Linked DNA regions of Homo sapiens: region 2 is linked to region 1. Evidence: promoter capture Hi-C in human tissues and cell types (Jung and others, 2019). All regions are on one chromosome and are shown on one strand. Each heading gives the region's core, a stretch centred on a gene start or on the middle of the fragment in contact. The rest is flanking DNA. Distances are from core to core; before and after follow the strand shown. Region 1 holds the start of RSPO4 (R-spondin 4). Region 2 has its middle 35 kb from the start of PSMF1.

Region 1 (5,948 bases), core at 1-2,500:
AAAAAAAGAAAAAAAAAAGAAAAGAAAAAGGAAGGACAATTGTTCAGCAAGAGAGTGTCAACTGTAAGTTTCTCTAGGCCTCCCTCCAAGGCCTCTTCCATTCTGATGAGTCTGTGCCTGAGAAGTGGCTAAGAGGGGCAGGCACTGGACCAGAATGGCCACTGACCTGCTGTGTGGCCTTGGGCAAGTCACTTGGCCTCTCTGAGCTTCCCTTTGCTCCCCAGAAAAGTGGAATTACTCAGAATACAAACCCAAACCATTGGGTTGTTTTGAAGACTCTAGTATATGTCAAGTTCTTAGCAATGCCCACCATATATGCCTCACAAATGATAGCTAGCATGATTGTTGTTGTTTTTGGTGGTTATAGTGACAGGAGAGGTGAGCATGCTGTCGGGTTGAAGGAGGAATTTTGCTCTGAAAGGGTTAAACTTGAACCAGCTGCTCCCAGTCCTGGTGATAAGGTTGGAGGAAACACAGTCCAGGTCCCCAGCCCTGTCACAAGTGGATTTATGAGGTGCTGGTCACTTTGAGTCGGAGTAGATGATCCCCGCAGACTGCACAGGAAACATTCAGGGTTAGTGGCCAGAAGGGGCTCAGGCCTCTGTTAAAAGAATGAGACAGAGTAGAGAGAAAAAGAGAAAGCCAGGCAGCAGGAGCCCCGCAAACACCCCACCCTGCAGGAGGGGAGAAGGGGAGAGATGGGGTTGAAGGGAGAGACAGAGAAAAGGGAGAACCAGAGGCCCAGCCAGGAGGACACAGACAGTGAGCCTGAGAGAGAGACGGCCGGCAAGAGTAAAGGATGCAGGAACAGCCAGGCAGGGTCGGGGGCAGAGCAGGGGAGCGCGGGCCGCGGAAAGACCGAGAAAGCAGGAGACAAGGAGTTGTCCTTAAGGGCCAGAAGGAGGAACAGACAGAGAAAGGGGACTGGGGGGAGGGAAAGAAAATCACAGGCGCTGAGAGGGCGCGGGGGACCGTACGGGTCTCCGGGTGTCCGCGCATCTGTACCTGCGCGCGCGTGCGTACCTGTGGCTGGCGGTGGGCACGTGCACGTGCTCGGGGGCAGTGCTGGGGGCGGGAAAGACGCAAGACCGCCGGCTGCGGGACAGATCGAACTCGAGGGCCCCGACCCGGGTGACCCCCGCCCCCTCCCCGCGCGCGCTCCCGGGCCCCGAGCTGGTTAACGCGCCGCCCCCGCCGCGCCGGCTCCTCCCCGCCAGGGCAGTGCCCCGGCTCCGCCAACGCCCTCACTAGACCTGGCGGCCGGACCGACCCGCGCCTGGCGGATGCGCCCGGCGCGCCCACAGCAGCCCCCGCGCCCGCCGTGCCGCCGCCGGGACGTGGGGCCCTTGGGCCGTCGGGCCGCCTGGGGAGCGCCAGCCCGGATCCGGCTGCCCAGATGCGGGCGCCACTCTGCCTGCTCCTGCTCGTCGCCCACGCCGTGGACATGCTCGCCCTGAACCGAAGGAAGAAGCAAGGTACAAGGGGTGGCTGGGCAGGGCGGCCGGGCAGGCGCTGCGGGGCAGACCGGGGGCCGGAGGACCGGGGGCGGCGGCTCTGGGGGCATCTGCCTGGTGCCTGGCGCCCTGGGTCCTTCGCTCCTCCAGACGAGTCTCAACCTCACTTAAGATGGGGAGATTGAGGCTCCAGGGCACCCAGTGAGCGAGCCATTGAGTAGGGTGGGCCAAGGAGACTCACCCAGAAGGGAGAGGGTAGCAGGGCTCTCTGTAGTAGCCGCATGGTCAGCAGAAAGGAGGATGGCTTCGTGCAGAGACAGAAGACTCAAGAGCCAGCCTGCGGGGCACAGGGACTAGGAGACAGACTCAGTGGCGTAGAAGCCATTCCAAGCATCCATGCTCGGCCAGGAAGTGACATAGAGAGCCTTGGGCTGGGCGTCCAGAGGCCCCAGTCCCAGCCTCATCACTCACCCTGACTCCTGGTGTCACCTCCCAGAGGGCAGTGATCCTCCATGGCCCCCCTATGTTGAGTTCAGCCAGACCTGAGACCTGAGTTCAGGTTCACTTATTCTAATAGGGGATGACCTAGAAGAAGTCCAGCCCCTCAGAGAGCCTCAGCTTTTCCATCTTCACCTCTCAGGCCACTAGGAAGATGAGCCAAGGTTCAGATTATAAATGTACCAGGGGCCGCATGCGCTCTCACCTGGGAGTCCTATGCCACAGCCTCGCTGTGAGAGTCAGAACATCCTCAGAAGGTGGGTTGGAGGCTGTCCCTGCAGAGCAGGAGTTGGTAGAGCCTGTGCCTCAGAGAAGGGTAAGCGGGTGAGCAAGTGAGCAAATCGCCTGCCTGAGCTGGGCAGCCCTTTGGCCTCCAGGTGCCACTCTTAAGATCAGCAGCCGAATGCCAGCCACTATGCCACGGGTTTTTCATGTCCTAGCTCATCAAATCCCAACTATATGCTCATGACATAGGGGTCGTCCAGTTTTAATAAAGCCTGGGATTCCAAGGCTCAGACTGGTTTAAATAACTGCTGAATTGTCCAGCTGGTGTCTTCTCTCTTTCCAGCCCTGGCATCGGGTCTGAGCAAGGATAAAGGGGAAGGAAAATGAGAGAGGATGGGTTGCCCTCTGGGGCCTTCCATTTGTGTGAAAGCCCTACAGCGACACAGTCACTCCTGGAACGGAGCAGGAAGCAGACAGAGGCTGTGGGAGAATTGGGAGGTGGGATTGGATGGGGTTGGGGAGACTGTGGCCCAAGAGGCTCCAGTTCTTGCTGTGACAGTGGGACAAGGGACTAGAGAGGCGTGTGGTTTTCAGCTGAGCTGGGGTGAGTTTGGGACTCTATGGGGACACTCCTTTGTGAATGGCCTTTGTTTAGTAGTTAGGGGCATGGGCTCTGGAGCCAGGTCAACTGAGTTCAAATCCCAGCTTCCCCAGTTACCAACTGAGTGACTTTGGATAAGTCACTTTGCCTGTCCAATCCTCACTTTACCCATCTGAGGGTCCTTTAGAAGATCTCTGAGATCTTTCTCCATTCTAAACAATACCAAAAAATCAAACAAACCCCCTTTCCCTTCATCAACCCATCTTTTACTTAAGTATCCTGCTCATAAGGAGGATTGTGGGCAAGATGAGTAGCTAAGGACACAGGCTCCTAATGGGTGCTCGTAAGTATTAATCATTCTCATTTCCTGTCCACTGTGTCTTTGGCTACTCACAGTGGCTTAGTGGAGGGAGGGGAGAGATGCTTGTTTTCTGGATGAGGGAACTGAGGTTCAGAGAAGGAAACTGACTTGTCCAAGGTCGCACAGCAGGTGAGTAGCAAAGCAGGCTCGAATCCCAATCTGCCTGACATAATGCTGAGAAGATATCTTCTGAGGTGTGCTGGTCTTCCCTTCTCAGAGCCTCAGTTTCCTCATCTAAAGAGGAGCTGGTTTAGGCCAGGTGTGGTGGCTCACGCCTGTAATACCAGCACTTTGGGAGGCCAAGGCAGGCGGATCATTTGAGATCAGGAGTTTGAGACCAGCCTGGCTAACATGATGAAACCCTGTCTTTACTAAAAATACAATGATTAGCTGGGTGTGGTGGCGGGCGCCTGTAATTCCAGCTACTTGGGAGGCTGAGGCAGGAGAGTCGCTTGAACCCAGGAGGCAGAGGTTGCAGTGAGCCGAGATCATGCCACTGCACTCCAGCCTGGGTGTCAGAGTGAGACTCTGTCTCAACAACAACAACAACAACAAAAAGGAGCTGGTTTAGAAGACTTTAAGATGCTTCTCAGCTCAAAAAAGACAAAAAAATTAAAGAAAAATGAAAAATTCCTATCCTGCCCCTTTTGCCCCCCGCCCCATCTACAGCTCACCACCACCTCCCCAGGAGCTCAGTGAGGAGGTAGGGATATGGCCGCAATTTGGTGAGGGGCTCTCAGCATCCCTCCTCCAGTACCTGATCTCTTGCCTCTGGGACACACACCTGCCTAGCATCTTCAGAAGAGGCTTAGGGCTCCATTTATTTGTTGGGGTACAATGGAGATAGCCTTGGATTTCAGTCACACCCCTGACCCAGTTGTATCATGTGACCTTGGGTGAGTGGATTTTCTCTGTCCCCCGCCCATAGCCTCAGTTTCCCACTGGCACTGCAGTGGGGACCAGAGCTAGATAAACCCTTCCTGTAGCATATTTTGCAAGGCAGCCACAGGAGTTCTGGTCAAATAGATTGGGAAATGCTGGGTTTAGCAGATTTCTTGGCTGTGAGACTTATCAGAGCATGCTGAAGAGGTGGAGACAGACAGTGTAACCCAGGTGCGATGGCTCAAGCCTATAATCCTGGCACTTTGGGAGGCCAAGATGGGAGGATAGCTTGAGCTCAGGAGTTCGAGACCAGCCTGGGCAACATGGCAAAACTCTACAAAAAATACATTTTTTGTCTCTATAAAAAAATACAAAAAATAGCCAGGCATGTTGGTGGTGGTGCACACCTGTAGTCCCAGCTACTTAGGAAGCCGAAGTGGGAGGATCGCTTCAGCCCAGGAAAGACATCAAGGCTGCAGTGAGCCGTGATTGTGCCACTGCACCCCAGCCTGGGCGACAGAGCAGACCCTGTCTCAAAAAAAAAAAAAAAAAAAGAGAGCGAGAGAGAGTGACCTTTCCCAAACATATTACACATCAGAGACCATTTCTCATAAGGCATCTGCTTGGAAAATTCTGTACACAATCCCTCAGGGTCCTACCAGCTTTGACCTTATCTAACTTTGGCAGGAGAATGTGTCCTGAAAACACCTGGGTATTGGCAGTGCTTCATTCATTCACTTGTTCATTTCACAGGGCAGCCTCTGTGCCAGGCTCTGTGTTGGGGACCTTGGAGATACCCAGGTGAGCAGCCCTGGGCCTGTCCTTGGGGAGCTGCCAACATAGAGGGATGACCCTTTCCCACCTTTCTCCAGCCTCCCCCATGCCTGAGTCTTTGGCCTTAGCGTTTGGCCAGGTCTGCACAATCCCGAGGAATGAGGTGCTGGGCTGGCATCTGCCCTCTCTGAGCCTGCTTGAGGCCTGGTTCCCACAGGCCCATCCTTCCTCAGGCTCCGGCGTCACTGCGTCTTAATGAAGCCCAATTTTTCTGTTTCTAAGAAAGAATGAAGTAAAAGACTTGAGAAAGATTCTTGGATCTCAAGTGTCTCTTACAAAACAGCATGTTGATTAATGAAGTGTAAATGAATCAGAACCAGATGGGGACATTTTTTTGAAACATGCTGGGGTGTCCTGGCAATGGGACAGTAGGGCAGAGTGAGGGGGCCCTGGTTCGCATCCCTAGATCTGGAGGTCCATTTGGGCAAGGAGGAGATGCCAGCCTGTGACTGACTTTCCCTGACATCCAAGGCCTTCTGGGGAGGGACCCCCACATTCACATGGAGCTTCTGGATCTTTCTAGACCTGAGCAAGCAAGGGGCAAAGTGAAGAGCCCTGGGATCAAACCTTGAGCCCTCTCCTGCCCTAGATATGTGACATTAAGCAGGCCACATGCCTTCTCCCGTCCGTGCTTCCCCATCTGTGAAATGGGAAAACTTACACCTACCTCTCTGAGCAATTGGGAAGATTTACTGCAGTCCAAGAGGGAAGGGGGCCAAAGGCACACAGTAGGGGCTTCATAAGGATTTGACCACTTTCCCTTCCCATTTTACAGCAGAGCAGACATGCCCTGGACCGGAAGGGAGTGGGGTCTCACGTGGGTTAAGCTCACCTCTGCCTCTTGCTTGTGGTGCATCCGGAGCAAACCTTCTCCTCTCTCTGAGCTTGTTTTTCTTTATTGTAAATTGACTGTGGCAGTGCCCACTCCAGAGGCCTGTTATGTGGAGTGAATATGATGCTTCCGTTTAAATTGCAAAGCCCCTTGTGGAGGGCCAGGCAGACAGCACTGTCTCCTGTACACAGACAGATGCACCAGGCCCTGGGCAAGCAGGCGCCATCGCTGGGCACGAACAAAGTATGTCCCCTGAGTGCT
Region 2 (6,021 bases), core at 2,672-5,171, 81 kb before region 1:
CCCTTGGCTTTAGCCACATGATTCCTGTCAGAGGCTGTGGGAGTTTGTGGTTCCTGTGCTGAGCTTTGAAACAGGGAGGGATTAATGGGGCTTGATTAAACCACAAATGTCAGGAAGTGCAGAGGGCAGCTAGGAATGCTGGCCACCTCTGTCCTGGAATAGGAGGAACGACCACTGACCTCCCCTCCCCACACTGGGCTTGATCTTCTGATAAAGGGGCTGAAGGGGGAGGCATCTTCTTCCCCCTCCTCTCAAGGGTGCCATTTTCATGCCTATGATGATGCTCATGTACATGGAAATGAGTGATGTGCTAATGAGAATTTAGTTTTGCTTTTGTTAAAGCAACCCCTAAGGAGGCGTAATAAGAAACCTGCCTACTAATTTTCAGTGGCCTGACATCATAACAGCAACCTCCTCGGCTGCACAAAAAGAGGTTTGTGCTAAAATAGTGAGAGAAATGACAGTAATAGGTACCGGTTCACTGAGCACCTATCTTAGTACTAGGCACTGAGCTCATTGCTTTATATGGTGAACTTTATTTCATCCTCATATCTGCCCTGGGGGAGATGCGGGCTTTCATTAACCCCATTTTACAGAAGAGGAAATTGAGGCTCAGAGAGGTAGAAGTGACAGACCAAAAGTTAACCCTGGGTCTCTCTCACTTCAGAACCAGAACCATTCTCCCTTGCTCACTCTGTTGGTGAATTCTAAGGGCCCATGTCCCTGATATTCTCAGATGAATGATTCTGTAGAAAACATAAAGACAGATAAGAGAAGTGGAGAGTCATGCTGGAGAAGTTCATACCAATCGTGGTGAATCCTTATCTCGTTTTTGAGACCACCCTGGGCCTAAATCATACACTATTTTATTAATTCCCCCCAACTACTGAGAAAGAAACCGGTAACACTTCCTGTCAGGAAGCTTTTTAGCTACGAGAAGCTAGAACTGATCTCAGTGAGGAAGACGCTTTGGATATGCTTGCCCCATATCAGCCCTAACCCTTCCTTGCCTGTCTTCATTAAGGAGGCTGGAAAAGTTGAATATCCACTTTACTGCCAGAAGTGGCCACATGGCCAATTCCAGCCAATGAGAAATGAGTGGAAGCCTCTACTTTCCTGATAAGAGAAACAGACATTGCTTGCAGCAGCCTTCCCTACCTCCTCCTCCTGCCTGGAATATGATGTGATGCCTGAACTGTGGCAGCCATCCTGTATTCAGAAGGAGAGGCCAAGAAAATCACAGACATTGCTGAGCCTGTGATGACTAGCATCACAGTCACTGTCAACCTCTAGATTTTTTGAAAATGAGAAGGATAAAATTTCTATTTATTTAAGCCTATGTTAGCTAGATTTTTTACTGCTTGAAATAAAAAACACCTTAATGGGTATAGCCTTTTTCAGTATGTCTCTTATTAGAGTGAGGAAATTCCCCCATATGCCCCTTTCTTGCCTATTCCTCTCACATCTCTGTCCAGAACTTGGTCCAATGTCTCTTACTAAGCTAATTGCTAGTCAGGGAAAGGAACCAACATGGTTGGCTTAGACCAACATGGTTCTTAAACTTGAAGTACATCATTGTCTTACGTGGGGGGCTTGTTAAAGTCCAGATTTCTGATTCCTATCTCCAGAGTTTCTGATTTAGTAGGTCTGAGAGGGTATCTGAAAATTTGCATCTCAGGGAAATGTTCTGCTCCACTATCTATACACGTAATATCAGAGAAAGTTTGCTGGGGGAAAAGTAATCAAGGGAGGCTTCTTGGACGAGGGATCATAAGTTAAGACTTAAAGCTTAAGGATGGAAAAGATGTGTTAGGATGGTGGCAGGAAGGAATGCCCTTAGTGAGAAACAAATGGCCAAAAAGATGGTAAGTGGAAAATGAGGAGGTGTGGTGTGGAGTAAAATGGAGAGGATTGGATTGGGTAGGTACTGTGGTTTCAACTGATGAAGGGCTTTCATCATTAGCTCCAGAATCCAGGAGTTGATTTTGGAGGCAAGAGGAAGGTAGGTTAAGAGCTTGGTCTTTATTGCCAGACTTGTGATTCAAGTCCTGGCTCCATCATTCATTTATTCATTCATTTATATTTTTGCTGTGGTTTTTCTGAGCAAGTCAATTTCTCTCTCCTAGCCTTTATTTTCTCTCAGATATAAAATGGGAACTGATGATGCCTCTCTCAGAGGGGTCATTATAGGATTTAAATAATACATGCACCTAGTGCTAAATCCATGATAGCTGAGAGAAAAATACTCATTTTGAGAAAAACCTGTATCCTCATCTCTCATGACATGTTAATTGGTGGGCTGAGGTTCATCACCAAATAACTTCAAGAAATACTGAGTTAGTAAAGGTTTCTTTACTGTAGGACTTTGCAGAGACTTTAATATGCTAATATGAGGGATGAATCTCATGAGAAAGACAGTGACCTGCAGCATTTCCCCAAGCTTGTTTTGCTCACAAAATGCTTTTTTAAAAATATAAATTATTGTAAACATTTTTGGGAATGCTCATGTTTAGCAGAACAATGAGAAACCAATGTAAAGCATCTAGGTACTATTTTACAAAAAGTTTTCATTTATGTTTTAATGAAGCATAAAAATGGCAGCATTTTGTCAATTCATTAGGTTATACTTCTGTGTTAGTCAGTTTCCCTAAGTTATGCTGGCATAACTAATAACCGTCAAATCTCCCTGGCTTACAACAACAAATATTTATTTCTTATTCACCTTACACTCAGGACTGGCTGCAGCTCTGGCCAAATCCTCTTCTTCCTGGGACCCAGCTGATAAAACAACCCTATTTGGAATACACTATTCTGGTGGAAGGCAGAGAAAAGCCACAGTGGAAACGTGGTGGCTCTTAAGGCTTCTGCTTAGAAGTGGCATTACCTCACTCAGGTCATATATCATTGGCCAAAGTAAGTCACATGTCCAGGCCTGATGTCAATGGCACAGGAAGTATAATTCTCTTATAGGGAGCAAGAGAGAGCTTTGGGAACTAAAAATACGGTCCATTCTGTTGTTAAAAGAAAAACTTTAGACAAATTAAATTTAGCAGAGTTTATTTGGGCAAAAAAGTGATTCATGAATTGGGCAGTACTCAGAGCTAGAAGAGGTTCAGAGAGCTCCACTTTAGCAGTTGAGCTGCAGGCTTTTATAGGGTGAATGTGGAAGCAAAGCAAAGACATTGCTTGACTGGCTACAAGTAGGTGTTTGCCTTATTTGGGCACGATCTGGTGGAAAGTCCCTAGAGGTTAGTTGGCGGTTTCAAATTAGCTAAGTCTCCAGGATCATTTTACGGTTTACATTAGGCTTTGATTTGCTTACATAGGAACCCAAAGCACTGGAGCTATCTCAGCATAATGGCACCTCAACTTAAAAATATTAACACTGTCATTTTGAAAATAGCCACCCTGTTTTAAAATACTGCCTAATTTGCATTGTTCATTAATTTAGTTTTGTCTAAAATTGGATTATATTGTAAATTAAATAGCGAAGAAAATGATCATATTTATAATATTGAGACATCTCATCCATGAATTTGCCATATTTCACCATTTACTTAGGCCTTCATGTCCCTCAATACAGTTTTCTTTTCTTTTCTTGGTACCTCACAGTTTATGAAGTATATTTAATTCTCCAGAAACTCTCTAAGTTGCTAAGTTGCTATTTTGATTATTCTCTCATTTTTTTCTTTTTTTTTTTTTTGAGACAGGGTCTCACTCTGTCACCCAGGCCAGAGTGCAGTGGCGTGATCTCGGCTCACTGCAGCCTCTGCCTCCTGGGTTCAAGTGATTCTTGTGCCTCAGCCTCCTGAGTAGCTGGGACTACAGGCACGCACCACCATGCCCAGCTAAGTTTTGTATTTTTAGTAGAGATGGGGTTTCACCATGTTGCCTAAGCTGGTCTTGAAATCCTGACCTCAAATGATCTGCCCACCTAGGGCTCCCAAAGTGCTGGGATTACAGGAGTGAGCCACCATGCCCAGCCGATTATTATTATTTGATAAATGAAGAAATTGTGGTTTACAGAGAGCCCAAGTCCATTTTACTTCTAAATAAAGCTTAGGTCCAAGGGCTGATTCAGGTGCGTGTGACAAAACCAATCAAAGTGTTTTTCAAAACTGAGAAACCCAGACATGGCTGAATCTGTAGGATCTTATTGGTGTCCTAGGTGCACTCTTCCTACCTTTATCTCTCAGCTTGGGTGTCTTGTTTGTTCACGTCATTCTCAAGCAGATATTCCCCATATGACAAAAGGATAGTTGTCAGAGGTTCATTGCCATTGGCAACCCTAGAGAAAACCTGAGACTGTCTTTCCCCGAGCATCCATGTCAATCCCTGAGAAGGACTCTAATTGGTCAGCCTGGCCTGGTGCTCACTCTTGCATAGGACCACATGATTGACAGCCCCATTAAAATCATTTGGAGAGGTAGGGGGAGAGTTCCCTAAAGGGAACGAAGGGCTGAAGGAGAATGATGCTAGGTGGCCAGAATGAATGGCAGATGCCCACTGTATCGTGCAGTCCCCACTGCCCTTCACTGGGGTGTGGAGGGAGGAGGCTTGCATCCTGTGTTGGCTTTGCTAGTAGTAATTTTGTCATATTGTAACTTCTGGGACTCTTACTTTGCTCATATGGCAAATGGGGAGCCTAACCACACAGGTGGGAAACAAATGAGGAAACGCATGGAAAAGGAGATCTGCAAAATAAAGCACTCTGTAAGAAATTGCTTGCATCATCATTGGCCATAATTAGTGAAGTTATCCCTCAGCTCGAGAACCTTGAATGGTTCCCTACTGCCTGACTCATTAAGTTCATGACACTTTGTGGCACTTGCAGGGCTCTTTAGCGTTTGGTCCCACCTGGCCTACCTCACTTCTGCCTAACCTACCTCCTCCAGTCTAAGCAAGCTGGTCTTCTCTTGTCCTGCTCACTTGCACTTTGAAGCCAATTCCCCAGTTCCACCTAGTATGAAACCACCCATTTTCCTGGGTGTCCCTGGCAAGTTTTGGATTTTCCGTGAAACTCAGTTTTTTCATCTCTTAAACTGGAATAATTGCTTCACAGGGTCATTGTGTGTATTACATAAAAGTGCATTGGCTATCCTTGTTTCCCTTGCATATTCTTTCCTGTGCACTCTTCTAGGGATCACCTCTGAGACAGTGATGCGTAAGGAAGGTATTTCCAACTTGGGAACACTTGGGCCCATCAGAGGCACTTATGACAGATTGCCTGGTGTCTTAGTCTGTTCATGTTGCTTGAACAAACTACCATAGACTGGCTATCTTATAAATAAATAATAGAAATTTATTTCTCATAGTTCTAGAGGTTGGAAGCCCAAGATTAAGGCACTGGCAGATTTGGTGTCTGGTGAGGGCCTTCTTCCTTGTTCATAGTCTTCTTACTGTGTCCTCACATGGCAGAAGGGACAAGAGATCTCCCTGGGACCTCTTTCATAAGGGCACTAACCCCATTTATAAGGGCTTTATCTCCCAAAGGGCTCATTTCCACACACCATCACATTGGAGATTAGGTTTCAACATATGAATTTTGGATGGACACATTGAGTCTATGGCACCTAGAAAAAGAGTGAGATCAGCCCTTTAGGTGCAAGGACTTAAAAAAATGTCCTCCTAGAGAGGAAGAAGAAGGGACCATGGTTGGGGCTTTGGGTCCCTGAGGAAGAGGATGACTCAGCCATGGCGAAGATGTGTTTTGGGGTCAGGCTGTAGCTTGGGATGGGCCCATGTCTGTGGTCAGGGGAGAGGAAGGCTGTGAGCAGGCAGAATGCTGGTGTCTGGACCAGCAGTCCCACATGGCCGTTTGCTCCAGTGGCAGCCCACCCAGGCAGGCACCCTCTGTCTTGGCCCCATACCCATATACATATTCTGGGGATGTTGCTACCTCACTTCACTATGTGAGCTGGGCCATAGTCTACTTCCACCCTTCAGAGATGCTGCCAGCAATGTTCTGGCCAAATCCAGCCTGCAGACCCATTTGGTGTGGCCCACACAGTGTGTGGTGCT

Evidence for each region. Contacts are between HindIII fragments. The study calls those that stand out against the background at their distance.
Region 2: a fragment that was not itself captured here is called in contact with the fragment with the promoter of RSPO4 in region 1 in 4 of the 25 tissues and cell types used here (dorsolateral prefrontal cortex, mesendoderm cells, pancreas and 1 more).

The regions. Positions count from the first base shown.
Region 1 is chr20:997,613-1,003,560 of GRCh38, reverse strand. RSPO4 (R-spondin 4) reads left to right here and starts at 1,250. Exons shown (of 5, transcript NM_001029871.4): 1 at 1,250-1,475. The coding sequence starts at 1,397. The HindIII fragment of the contact is 18,767 bases long and covers 1-5,948 here.
Region 2 is chr20:1,080,773-1,086,793 of GRCh38, reverse strand. No RefSeq gene overlaps it. Among named protein-coding and RNA genes, the nearest start is that of PSMF1, 35 kb to the left of the region's middle. RefSeq lists an enhancer at 1-203 and a silencer at 384-483. The HindIII fragment of the contact is 3,614 bases long and covers 2,115-5,728 here.